Linked DNA regions of Homo sapiens: region 2 is linked to region 1. Evidence: promoter capture Hi-C in 16 types of primary human blood cells and fetal thymus (Javierre and others, 2016). All regions are on one chromosome and are shown on one strand. Each heading gives the region's core, a stretch centred on a gene start or on the middle of the fragment in contact. The rest is flanking DNA. Distances are from core to core; before and after follow the strand shown.

Region 1 (5,381 bases), core at 2,435-4,934:
AAAGGCAGGTGGATGAGCAAGGGGGCCTCGGAGGCATTCCGGATCACACTGAACCTGAGCCCCACCGCCTGACCCACTCAGTGTCACTGTTAACAGAAACTCGCTGCCATCTGGCCTCAGGCCTGCCTCCTTCCTATAGAACTTGACACTGGAAGCACCAGGCGAGCTGGACCTTCTGCTGCTACTGCACTCCCATGATGCAGCCTGAGAATGAAGCCCACCAGAGTGACAGAGAGCAGACCTGAGTGGTGAGCTGGTGACACAGGGTGTGGGTGGTGTCCCTTGAGCTTCGACACCACGCCACACCTGAAACCAGCCTGACATCCATGATTTTGCTTTTTTGCTTAAACCAGTCTGCGTCATTTTCAACAAAAGAGTTCTACTAGATATGACAAATTTCTCTAGAAGACCTAAGAAGTGAAAGACTTGAAGCTATTCCAGTGGTTCAGGAACTAGGACACTGGTAGGAAACTGGAAAGAAGGCATCAGAGTTAAGGAAATATTTATGAGGTCAACTCTGGAAGTCTTGGTTACTGAGTGAATACAGTGGCTGAGAGGAATGGAAGCATCCAACCAAATAAAAAAAGATGGTGCTGAGATTTGGGTTATGAGGTCAATGACTGAAGCAATGCGATTAACTGAGTTAGGAGTCTCAAATATAGGATGAGTGCAGAGTTGAGGATGAAGAATTCTGCTTTGGACACAATGAGTGTGAGGTGCCCAAGGATAACCCAACGGGAAGCAGTCACACCAAAGCAACAGGGTGTGCACCTGAAACTCAGAAGGGTGATTGGGCTATGGTGAAGATTCCTGATCACCCATAAATGAATTCATTAAAAGCATGAGAGTGAGTGGAGGGGCCCCTAGAATATGGTGGGTGCATGAGACTAACCCTAGATTGGGGATAGCTCCCTGGGAAATCCAAGGGACAAGGTGAGGAGGAGGAGGCGGAGCCCACCAAGGAAACTAGAAAGAGACCGCTGGAGAGGTCCGAGGACAGCAAGGAGCACAGCCTTCAAGTCTGGGAGCCAACTATCCAAGAAGAGAGTGGTTTGCTATGGATGCCGTGGGCCACCACGTCCCATCTAGGAAAGCAAGTTGAGGTCTCTCTTGAATACATTGGGATTGATTACCCAGACTTTAAAGAATCTATGTCCCCTACTTCCCTTCATTCACTCTGCTCTTTACCTTCTCCTCTTCCCTGGTCACCAGCACCTCTGCTAAAGGGTGGAGAAAGGAACTTCTGATCAGTTACAGAAAAGCTTTGGGGTTACGTGGTGCAAGCTGCTCTGCCTCTGTTTGTGAAGAAATTAGACTATGGCCAGCCATGTGAGTGGCATCACTTTGGTTTCTGGAGCAATAGTTAGTAGCAACTTTTAGAGGTGGTCATTTCGGTTCCCTTCTGGAAAGTGATTCGTGTTTAAGAAAAATAGATGCAACGTTGCTAAGTACACCTAACATTTAAACAGTCTCCAGCAGATAAATGCTGATACTGACACTTCTCACCAGAAAAAGAGAAATACCCATCATGAGGAAGAGAAATGACTTTTGTTCAGTTATGCTCCCGGGTCCCCTTTCACTGGAGGGATATCTCAGCTTTCTGAGCCCCTGGTTACTGCAATCCTCGGTTCCAGAACCCAGCAATTCCTATCATCACAATTGTTTCAAGTCTTATCCAAGCCCTGTATATTTCAGATCATCCTTAATTTCTTGTTCTGTACCCAGAGGAGATCAGGAAAACCTTTAAGTCTCTATGTGAGGCAAATACATCCTCCTCACTGCCCCAGCCCCATGTGATTGATGAAGCAACTGAGGAAGAGAAGTAGGGTGCTTCTGGCACTGGAGGAGCGCAGTGCTGAGAAACTCCGGGCTCCATTCGGAAATAGCACTGATTTCTTAGTGTACTTTTTTTTGGTGTTAATATAGAAAACATCAAAAACACAGTTAAAAGAATGAAGCATGTCTACATACGTGTGGCCAGAAAGACTGACCAGAAGCTGGTAGCAGTGAGGGATGACAGTGCTTGCCCCTGGGTTGAATAGTGGAAGAGTTAGGGGGGAAACAGTCTGCTCTTTGAGACCCTTTCAATTTCATGTGATGGATTTACAGAGACAGATGAATTAAACATTATATAAAAAAGGAATAAAACCACTGGTAGGATCTGTATTCCAGGAAGAAAAAAGCATATTACATAATAGGTCAATGCACAGAAATAAAAAAAGGAATTTAACTAGAGCCTATGCTAATCATAAATCCCTTCCCTGTTCCAGAGTCCTGTTGTCTCTGGGGTCTTGGCCTGTCTTATCTAGGCCATGGAGTGGTGGGGGTGGGATGCTGCTAGTTCCTAGGCAGGAAATAGTGGCCAGTTACCCTTGTGGTGTCATTTCTGGGTCCTGGAAAGGAGACCACTGCTGACCCCTGACTCACCAACCAACAATTATTGATGGAAATCCCACCGGCCTCCCCGGACAAAGGCAGCCCAGACCTGGACTCATTCACATGTAAAGGAAGTGGCCAGAAGTGGCTGCTGTTGGCAGGGGTGAGGGACGGGAGAGCGCGCTAAGTGGCCTGTGTCTGTGGGGGAGGGAGAGGGTGGAGCAGCACAAGCCGGCCTGAGGTTAGGAGCCTGCGGTATCTCCAGGAAAGCAGAGGCGGCTGTGGGGGGCGCCGGGGCTGAAGAGCCAAGTGTGGAGACTGCTCCATCTTGCCCATCTCCAGAAACTCAGACCACCCATCCATTAAAGGCAGGTGGATGAGCAAGGGGGCCTCGCAGGCATTCCAGATCACACTGAACCTGTGCCCCACTGCCTGACCCATTCAGCATCCCTATTAACAGACACTCGCTGCCGTCTGGCCCGGACCCGGCTGGCGCTGCGGGTCCTTCCACCCCAGTTAGGAAGGGTCATGGCTCCCGCGGAAGCCCCTGCCAGGGTGAATAAACTCGGCGTGGGGCTGACGGGCTCTGAATTACTCCGTTGCTTACAAGCCGAGTGCCCCTCTGTGCCTCAGTTTCTCCCTCTATAAAACAATACGAATACCGGCCCAGAAGCGTTGTTGGGCAGATTAAACGAGAAAATCCACTGGAAGTGTTTAACAAACGACACACAATACGGGCTTCATACCTGCCAGCCGATGTCCCCTGCAGCCTTTATTCCCTACCCAATTCCCCTTAGCCTGCTATGTGGAGATACAGGAGGCTTGCACCCGCCGCGGTCCCGGTGTATTTTAACGGGCTCCCGGGGAAGCGGTGTGGAAAATGGATTAGGGAGGGAGGAGGCCAGAGCCTCGGAACCCGGGGAGAGGTCTGCAGGCATCCAGTTGGGAGCTGGAAGGGCGGGACAGGGCCCTTGGCAGGGGGATCCAGGAAATATTTTGGAGAAATTCTCTCTAGGACTTGGTAACAGGTTGAGAGCGGCCACTTGGCCGGGGGCGCCGGCTTCGGAGGCGGGAGGGAGGTGGAGGAAGGGAAGGCAGCTGCAGGGCCGACCTGCGGGGTGGGCGTGAGGCCGGGGGATTGGGGCCGCAGGGGTTCGGCCTGGAGGAGCGGCGTGGGGGCGCCGGGGCCCTGATTCCATCCTGGGCGGGTCGGCCCCGCAGCCGCTGCGCTCGGAACCCCCTAGGCGCCCCGCAGTACCCGGCGTCCTTCCTGCCTCCTCCTCGCCCCTGTCCTCCGTCCGAGCCCCAGTCCCGCCGACCCTGCCGGCGCCTCCGCCCTCCCGCCCTCCCGCCCTCGGTTTCCCACGACCTCGGCGCGACGCGCGCGGGATCCAGTGGAGACTGCTTTCCCATAGGCCGCCATCCAGGGCGGGGAAGGGAGCGGACCCTCCCGGCTCCAGGTGCCTGGGCCCCCGGCGGCCTGCGGAGGCCTCGCCCCACGCCACCCGCCCACTGGCCTCGTCTTCGCGCGGGGGTGAGAGCAAAGGAGGCACTCGGCCCATCGCCAGCCCGGGTCCCCTTCCTGCCCGTCGCTATCCGAGAATTTGCCCCGTGTCCCCCAGGCCGCGGGGGTCCGGAGAACCGAGGGGCGGACCCCGCAGAGGGCTGCGCCGCCCTCCCTTCTCTCCCCGCGGGAAGCAGCCCCCAGGACCGCCCCTCGCTCCCTGCCCGGGAGGGACTGGGCTTCCCCGAGGTGTGCGGCTCCTGGAGAACTCGCTTTCCCGTTTCCAGCCGGCCAAGCCATCAGTTAATCGCTTGCTTTCTCTTTTCTTTACAGAGAAAAGCAGCCTGATTCGGAGGAACGGGTTGCTTGGGGCGGCTCCCAGCTCGAGTTGTGGGCCCCGCCGCGGGTGCCCTTCGGAAACGCGCTGACACCAGGCGAAGCCGCCTCTGCCCGGACGCAGCCCGACACTTGGCCCGCGGGGTTCCCCGGGACGCCTGAGAGTAATGGGCGCGAGGGGGAAAGCCGAACGGCCTCCCTGTGCCCGGCGCAGGCGGTGCCCCCTAGCTGGGTTCGCCGCGGCGGCGCTGCGAGCCCCCGACACTGAGGACTTTTGGTCCAACAGTCCGACGGGGCCCGGTGCGCCGTTCCCTCCGCCCTCTCCCCGCTCCCCGGCCCGCGCGTCTTGGAGGGTGGGTGAATTGTCGGAAGCACTCTACGCCTGGCCAACCCAAACCAGGAACCTCCGCACCAAACAGCCCACGTTGCTGCTGCTCTGGGGTTTTAACGGCCAAGGGAGACTGGAGAAGGGGTGTTCTGCCTTCCCATTCTCTTAGGCCCGTCCACTCCCCATCCCCACAGTTTGGAAGTGGCCTTTTCTGAGGACTCCAGCGCAAAGCATGTTTCTCCTTTTGAGCTGCGGAAGCCTTGCTTGTTCCCGCCATTGGGAGGGCATTCCATCATCTGCAGCTGCCTTCCTCGGTGGGCCTTGTCCCTTAGCGTCCACCTAGGGGACATTCTAAGCTTCTTGAGACCTGCTTGTCCACCCCAACATGTCTCAGCATATGGCTGTGCCCTAAGGGGTCTTTGAGGGCATTTTAGGAGGTGAGCGGCGCCCCTACCTGGGCTCCGCGGGGCCGATTCGGTTTGCCCTTTGCTGGCATGTCAGTGAATTAACTGCTGTCCTTGGGATGACCTGCCCTATGATTTGGCCTCTGGAGCATCCCGGGTGTGTATTTCAGAACTCCTCCCATCTTATCCACCTGCTGAAGGCCTGGCCCCCTGATATGGTTTGGCTCTGTTTCCCCACCCAAATCTCACCTTGAATTTTAATAATCCCCACGTGTCATGGGCGGGACCAGGTGGAGGTAATTGAATCATGGAGGTGGTTTCCTGAACGCTGCTCTCGTGACAGTGAGTTCACAAGATTTTTTTTTTTAACGGAGTATCACTCTGTCACTCAGGCTGGAGTGCAGTGGCGCGATCTTGGTTCACTGCAACCTCT
Region 2 (5,227 bases), core at 1,479-3,978, 510 kb after region 1:
CGCACCTTACCCACCTCCCCTCCCATGCTGCGGGAAAAGGGCCAGAGAGGCTTTTGGAGTTCTGGAAGGGGCGGTGGGTAAGAGAGGTGGTGTGTGTGACTCTTATGCCCACCGATTCAGGCGCTTGGGTGGCTGCCACCCTTACAGAGATGGGCGACCAGCCCAGTGCTTAGAGTGCAGAGTGCGGCCTCAGGGGAGCCCGGGGGCGGGCCGGACCGATTCTCACTTTACAGGCCCGGGCCCAGCGCTGAACCCCAAGACCCCCAGAAACTGTGCCTCTGGGTGACATGCGCTGTGTCTCCACGTATTTAGTACGTTCATGTTTAAAATGATGCTAGCGTGTGGATGAGCACACTCTCAGGGAAACTGATCTGTTTCCATCACCTAAGAAGAACCATATGGGTGGGCGGCTGTGGAAGACACCCACAGACCTGTTTTCCTGCACCTGGGAGAGAAGACCGTCTTCCTCCCTTTTTATCCTTTCTTCCTCCCTGGGGAGGAGAAATACAAAAGAACTAGACATAAATAATAAAGAGCCACAATGGGTGGCTCTAAATATTTGATAATTGGATCACTGAGGTCTTGAACTACCACAATAGTCCTTTTTCAGCATTCTGTGTGTGTGCATTTCTTTTAGGTTTTTATTTATTTCTGTGTTTATTGGCGACAGTAGTTCAGCATGCAATTAATCGCCTCCACAAAGAAAGACAATGCTTTATGGTGTCATCCTTTGTTATTGCAACTTAAAATTTCTGGGTGGTACTCCGGATAAATTGTTGCCTCAGGTGCATGGAGTGCCCAAGTTGTAAAACAAGGGGCTTTCGATTGTGAGTTTATGTGTGTTCCAGTTGTCACCCAGCTTCCTTCCACAAGGCTATAAAATGCCTTTGAGTCCATGATCTGTTTCAATTAAAATGTTGAATCAAGGTAGACATCAATAGGCCCCGCCATTCTCAATTTGGGGTATTAGCTTCATTTCAAACTCACTGTGAGTGGTGTATCTAATTTCTGGTTATAAAGTAGTCATAATCTTTGAAGCTATTTGAACAAAACTTAGAACCATTTGGAATTATTTTCTGAAAAGAAAAAGGCTGTTTTACAAAATTATCTTCAACTTTCTACAGATAGATAAACTGATGAGGTTAATCAATGTGGATTAAAATATGTCTCCCGTTTTTATCCTCATTCCTCTCTCTCTCTCACACACACACACACACACACACACACCTTTTATTTTCTCCAGCCTCTGCCACAGTGTATAATGCCCTATTGAGACGTGTAGGCGTGATGTGTAAACCGGATTAGCAGTATGAAAGAAAGACACACAATAAGCTGGAATTGTTTTACTTCCCTTTCATTTCTCATGCCTATATTTCTGATAAATTTGTTGCTCCAGCAGTGGGTCAAAGGGATCATGTTGCTCAGCTTCTTTTTCATGCAGGACCCAATAGCAGAGATCACTGAAATGAATGGTGTGCCTCCTAGCAAACGCAAAGCTTGATAGAGATATATTAGACAGGGAGAGGCGAGGAGAGGGAAGGATGCAAAACATGTTCAAAGTCTGGGTGTTGTAGGAATACATCTCTATCCATGAGAGGAAAGCAATGTGGGTAAGAATATATTTGGAGAGAGAGGGATCAATGCAGGGGTCAATGCTCTGTTTTCTTTCAAGTTCATAGTAGGCTCTGAACATTCAGCAGTTGGTGACATGCTTAGCAAGAGAATACCAATAGCTTTTGGCAATACATAAAGTCTAATTCCCCTTTCAAGCTAGTATTTAGACCTGGAGTAATCAATGTGGAGATTTCTGGGACCTTCTCAGGACACTCCCCTCTGCCGCTTTCCCCACCCCCAGCTCACTGTAAGCTCAAAAAATGCCAGTGCTCCCGGGTTTGTGCTGTAGACCCCTCATTTACTCCTTTGTGGAGTTAGGAGCAGCTTCCCATTAAAGGAGATCAGGGGTAATTAGCAGCATTATTTTGACAAGTTGGCTAGAGCTGTTCCCTTTCCTCCAGCCTGGGGAGGGGGTAAATAAGGGGAGGAAACAGAAGGTGGAAGGGAGTAGGGGAGGGGAGTCAAGCCCAGTAGTTTTAAATTTTGTAGCTGCTGAATCTCCCCCCACCCCGTCCCCGACTTCCCTGAAACCTTTTAGACTCATTTTCTACCATCACCTTTTAAGAATATACAAAAGCTGCCAATGAGAAAATAGTAAGGCATTCTTAGGGAGCCAAGAAAATGTGGTGGATGGTGGCACATTGGCTTGAGTTGAGTCGACTCAACTCATATTCAAGGTACCTGCTTGGAACTGCTGAAGCCCTGCCTTGACCATCACTCACATCCTGTATCCTGGGCTCCCCATGCAGTAAAAGAATATTGCATCAAATCCCCAATTCCTCTCTCCATCCGACCCTCTCAACAAAAATACTGTAGGACTTAAAATCATGTTTGCAATTCCTTGTATTTCTGGAAGAGTATTAAACTCAGTAGACAAAATTATAAATGGCCCCAGGGTCAAATTACTGGAATACATTAACCCCTTTATTCATTTATACTCTGCAAAACTTGCCAAATTACATTGGATTTTAAAGACTCATTTGGTTTGATCTGAGAAACCAGTGAAAAGTTAAATCTCACTGTGGTTTTTCATAACTCCACCAAGTCTGGCTTCCACAATTGCTTACCATTGGAACATCCCAACACAAAGGGCAGATGTTTTATTTCATTGTCATCATTTGGATAATCTGATGTCATTTTTGAAATGTGTGTGGTGTGGCCATGGATATTTGTAGTATTGGAACAGAGAAGGGAGGAGATGTGAGGGAATCCGGAGAGCTTAAGGCATCTGCTTTGAAAACTACACACTCCAATGAGAAGTCTTGGATCATGACTGGGAGACCAAAATGACAATTTATGCATTGAGATGAACTTTACTTGGAAAGGGGAAATGGAACACTCAGCTGTTGCTTCATAAAGGCTGGCAACTCCTGCTGGCTGATAAGGCCCCAAGTTCTCACTTATTTTTATTTGGTAACTGTCACAAGGGGTGCCAGAGGCAGAAGGGCCATTTAAAGGGACTGTCTTCCCGGAGGACACCTTAGCAGGTCTGGCTGCCCCAGTCTGCATCTCAGATCTGTGGAATCCTTGTGGTTAGTTGAAGTTAACAAACCCGGTGTGGCACAGCAGTCCCCTGCACAGGGCATGCATATTAAAGCCGACAATGCTTACAAATGTAAATAAGGGCAGATTGATTAGGAACAACATTATCGCTGGGAATGTCGCACTCGCATGCATCAGCAATGAGGCAAATTGGGGGCAGCCTCAGCCCTGACCACCCAAGTCGAGCAGGCTTTTACACTGGCTCCTCTTCCCTTTCTTAAAACGTTACAGAAACAAGGCCAATTAGATCCTCAAAGTAATTCATCTCTAAGTATGAAAAAAGCAGACCACAGGGGAAGCGGCGGGTGGGGGGTGGGGAGATTAAGATAGCGCTCGTTAGAGCCGAGGCTCCGGAGTGCGTCCTGGAACCCACGGGTAGAATTTACAGGCCGGGACCATTGTCTGAGATGCTGAAAAGTTAACCCATCAAACAGCGGGCGAGGGGGCTCAGGGCACTGAAAGCTCCGGGGATCAATGTTCAAAACGTTTAGGAATTAAGTCAAACTAAGGGATATGGGCCTGAGTGGAAGAGGCTTTGCCACTGAAATGACGTGCATGTGGCAGCCGCCGGAACCAGAGGACATGCAGCCGCGTGCGGAGAGTGAGGCGGATCCATTACGGGCACACAGCTTACCATTTCCTTCCAGAATTCCTTCTTCCAAACAAGCTATACTGAAATCCCTCTAGTAAAAGATTGAGACGAAACACTAATAGTTTTGGGCCAAAACGTGGTGGAGAAGTTTGAAAAGACAAACATAGCAACGTGTCTTTGGCTATATGGTTCCTTGCCCTCCAGCAAGCTTGAAATATAAAAAGGCTAACATGCAAAACTAGGGGTACTACCCCCCTCCCCCAGTTTTTAAAAAGCAATTTCCAGAAGCAAACACACAATGGTTCGACTTGAAGTGTCGGCATAACCATTCAGTAAGAAAAGCTAGAATAGTAAACCTCTTTTCCTGTTTTGTGCTATTTATCAAACCTAATAAACATCAGGATCGTACTCAAAGATGAAACTGGCAATGTGTGGAGCCGTCTGAGCTCTTTATCAACTCAGTGTCATTTTCCTCGCATGCTGCCCGCCTGCTTTCCGAGTTTCCGCAGCCCTTCCCTGAGGCACTCACAAAATCACGTGCTCCTTAAGCGGTCTGAGTTTTGAATTTCCGCGCTGGCCCGGTGCTCAGGTCCCCCTCCGGATCCCGCGAACGCCCCCAAACACCTCCACCCCGTCTCCCTCTCTTCCTCGGGACATCCCGCCCTGACCCCGGCACCGCATACGGTTTGCGGGTTAGGGGGTCGGGGGAAGGGCCTCCCCCTGAAGCCGGGGAGGAGGAGAGGCTGGAGGGAAGGTGGCCAGGCTGGTGGGGGAGGGGAGATTGAGGGAGGGAGCGGGGCGAGGGAGGAAGGAGAAGGCGCAGGCCGAAGGAAGGAAGCGGGGAGGGGAAACCGCCGGGGAGGAAGGAAGGGGGCGGGGAGAGCCGGCGGACGGGCCCCCTGCGGGAGCCGCGTGGACCGCCCCGGTGGCCGGCGCGCCCCGCCGCAGCCCCCAGCGCGCCCGGGCAGCCAGCGCGGGGCCGCTGAATGGGCAGGGACTCGTGAGCGCGACCATTGGCCGGTCGCGGGGAGGCGGCGCGGGCATTGGGCAGCGTAAGGGGGCCGGTCCGCCTTCAGGAATGTACTACGGCGCGTCCGGCACGTCCGTCCGCGCCGGCTGGGCGCGCGCCTCGCCTGGGCTCTCGGGAGACCGCGCTGGAGGCCCGGAGCCGGCCCGGCGCATCCGCCTCCCTACCTACTCTGCCCCGGCCGCGCGGGCGCGGGGAGTCCGGGAGCCGGGCGCGCGCGCGCACCGGGCCTCCTGGCGCGGGGTCACGTGGCCACCGGAGCTCCGCCTTCTCCCTGCTCCTCCCCCTTTCCCTCCATCTGGGTTTCTTTCTTTCCTTTCCTTTCTTTCTTCTTTTTTTTTCAATGAACATACACCGTGCGCATCTTAAAGCCACACCGCCCCATTTCACGACTTCACTAGACTTCTCGCTACTGCCAGTCCCTCTGCAGTTCAACCCCGTTTAAAAAAAAA

Evidence for each region. The method cuts DNA at HindIII sites, captures the fragments that hold promoters and counts their contacts. A CHiCAGO score of 5 or more calls a contact.
Region 2: a fragment that was not itself captured here is called in contact with the fragment with the promoter of LINC00092 in region 1 in 6 of 17 cell types (non-activated CD4 T cells, endothelial precursors, naive CD4 T cells and 3 more); the score reaches 6.8 in non-activated CD4 T cells.

What each region holds. Positions count from the first base shown.
Region 1 is chr9:96,020,114-96,025,494 of GRCh38, reverse strand. It overlaps LINC00092 (long intergenic non-protein coding RNA 92), which reads left to right and starts at 3,684. Exons shown (of 2, transcript NR_024129.2): 1 at 3,684-3,910; 2 at 4,214-5,381. It overlaps LOC105376159 (a long non-coding RNA gene), which reads left to right. Exons shown (of 2, transcript NR_188619.1): 2 at 1-2,235. It also overlaps a transcript of ERCC6L2 not described here. RefSeq lists enhancers at 2,262-2,762, 4,195-4,244 and a silencer at 4,455-4,504. The HindIII fragment of the contact is 3,638 bases long and covers 1,265-4,902 here.
Region 2 is chr9:95,510,622-95,515,848 of GRCh38, reverse strand. It overlaps a transcript of PTCH1 not described here. Among named protein-coding and RNA genes, the nearest start is that of PTCH1, 4.0 kb to the right of the region's middle. RefSeq lists enhancers at 2,817-3,789, 3,655-4,416, 4,417-5,180 and silencers at 4,344-4,393, 4,614-5,053. The HindIII fragment of the contact is 2,460 bases long and covers 1,499-3,958 here.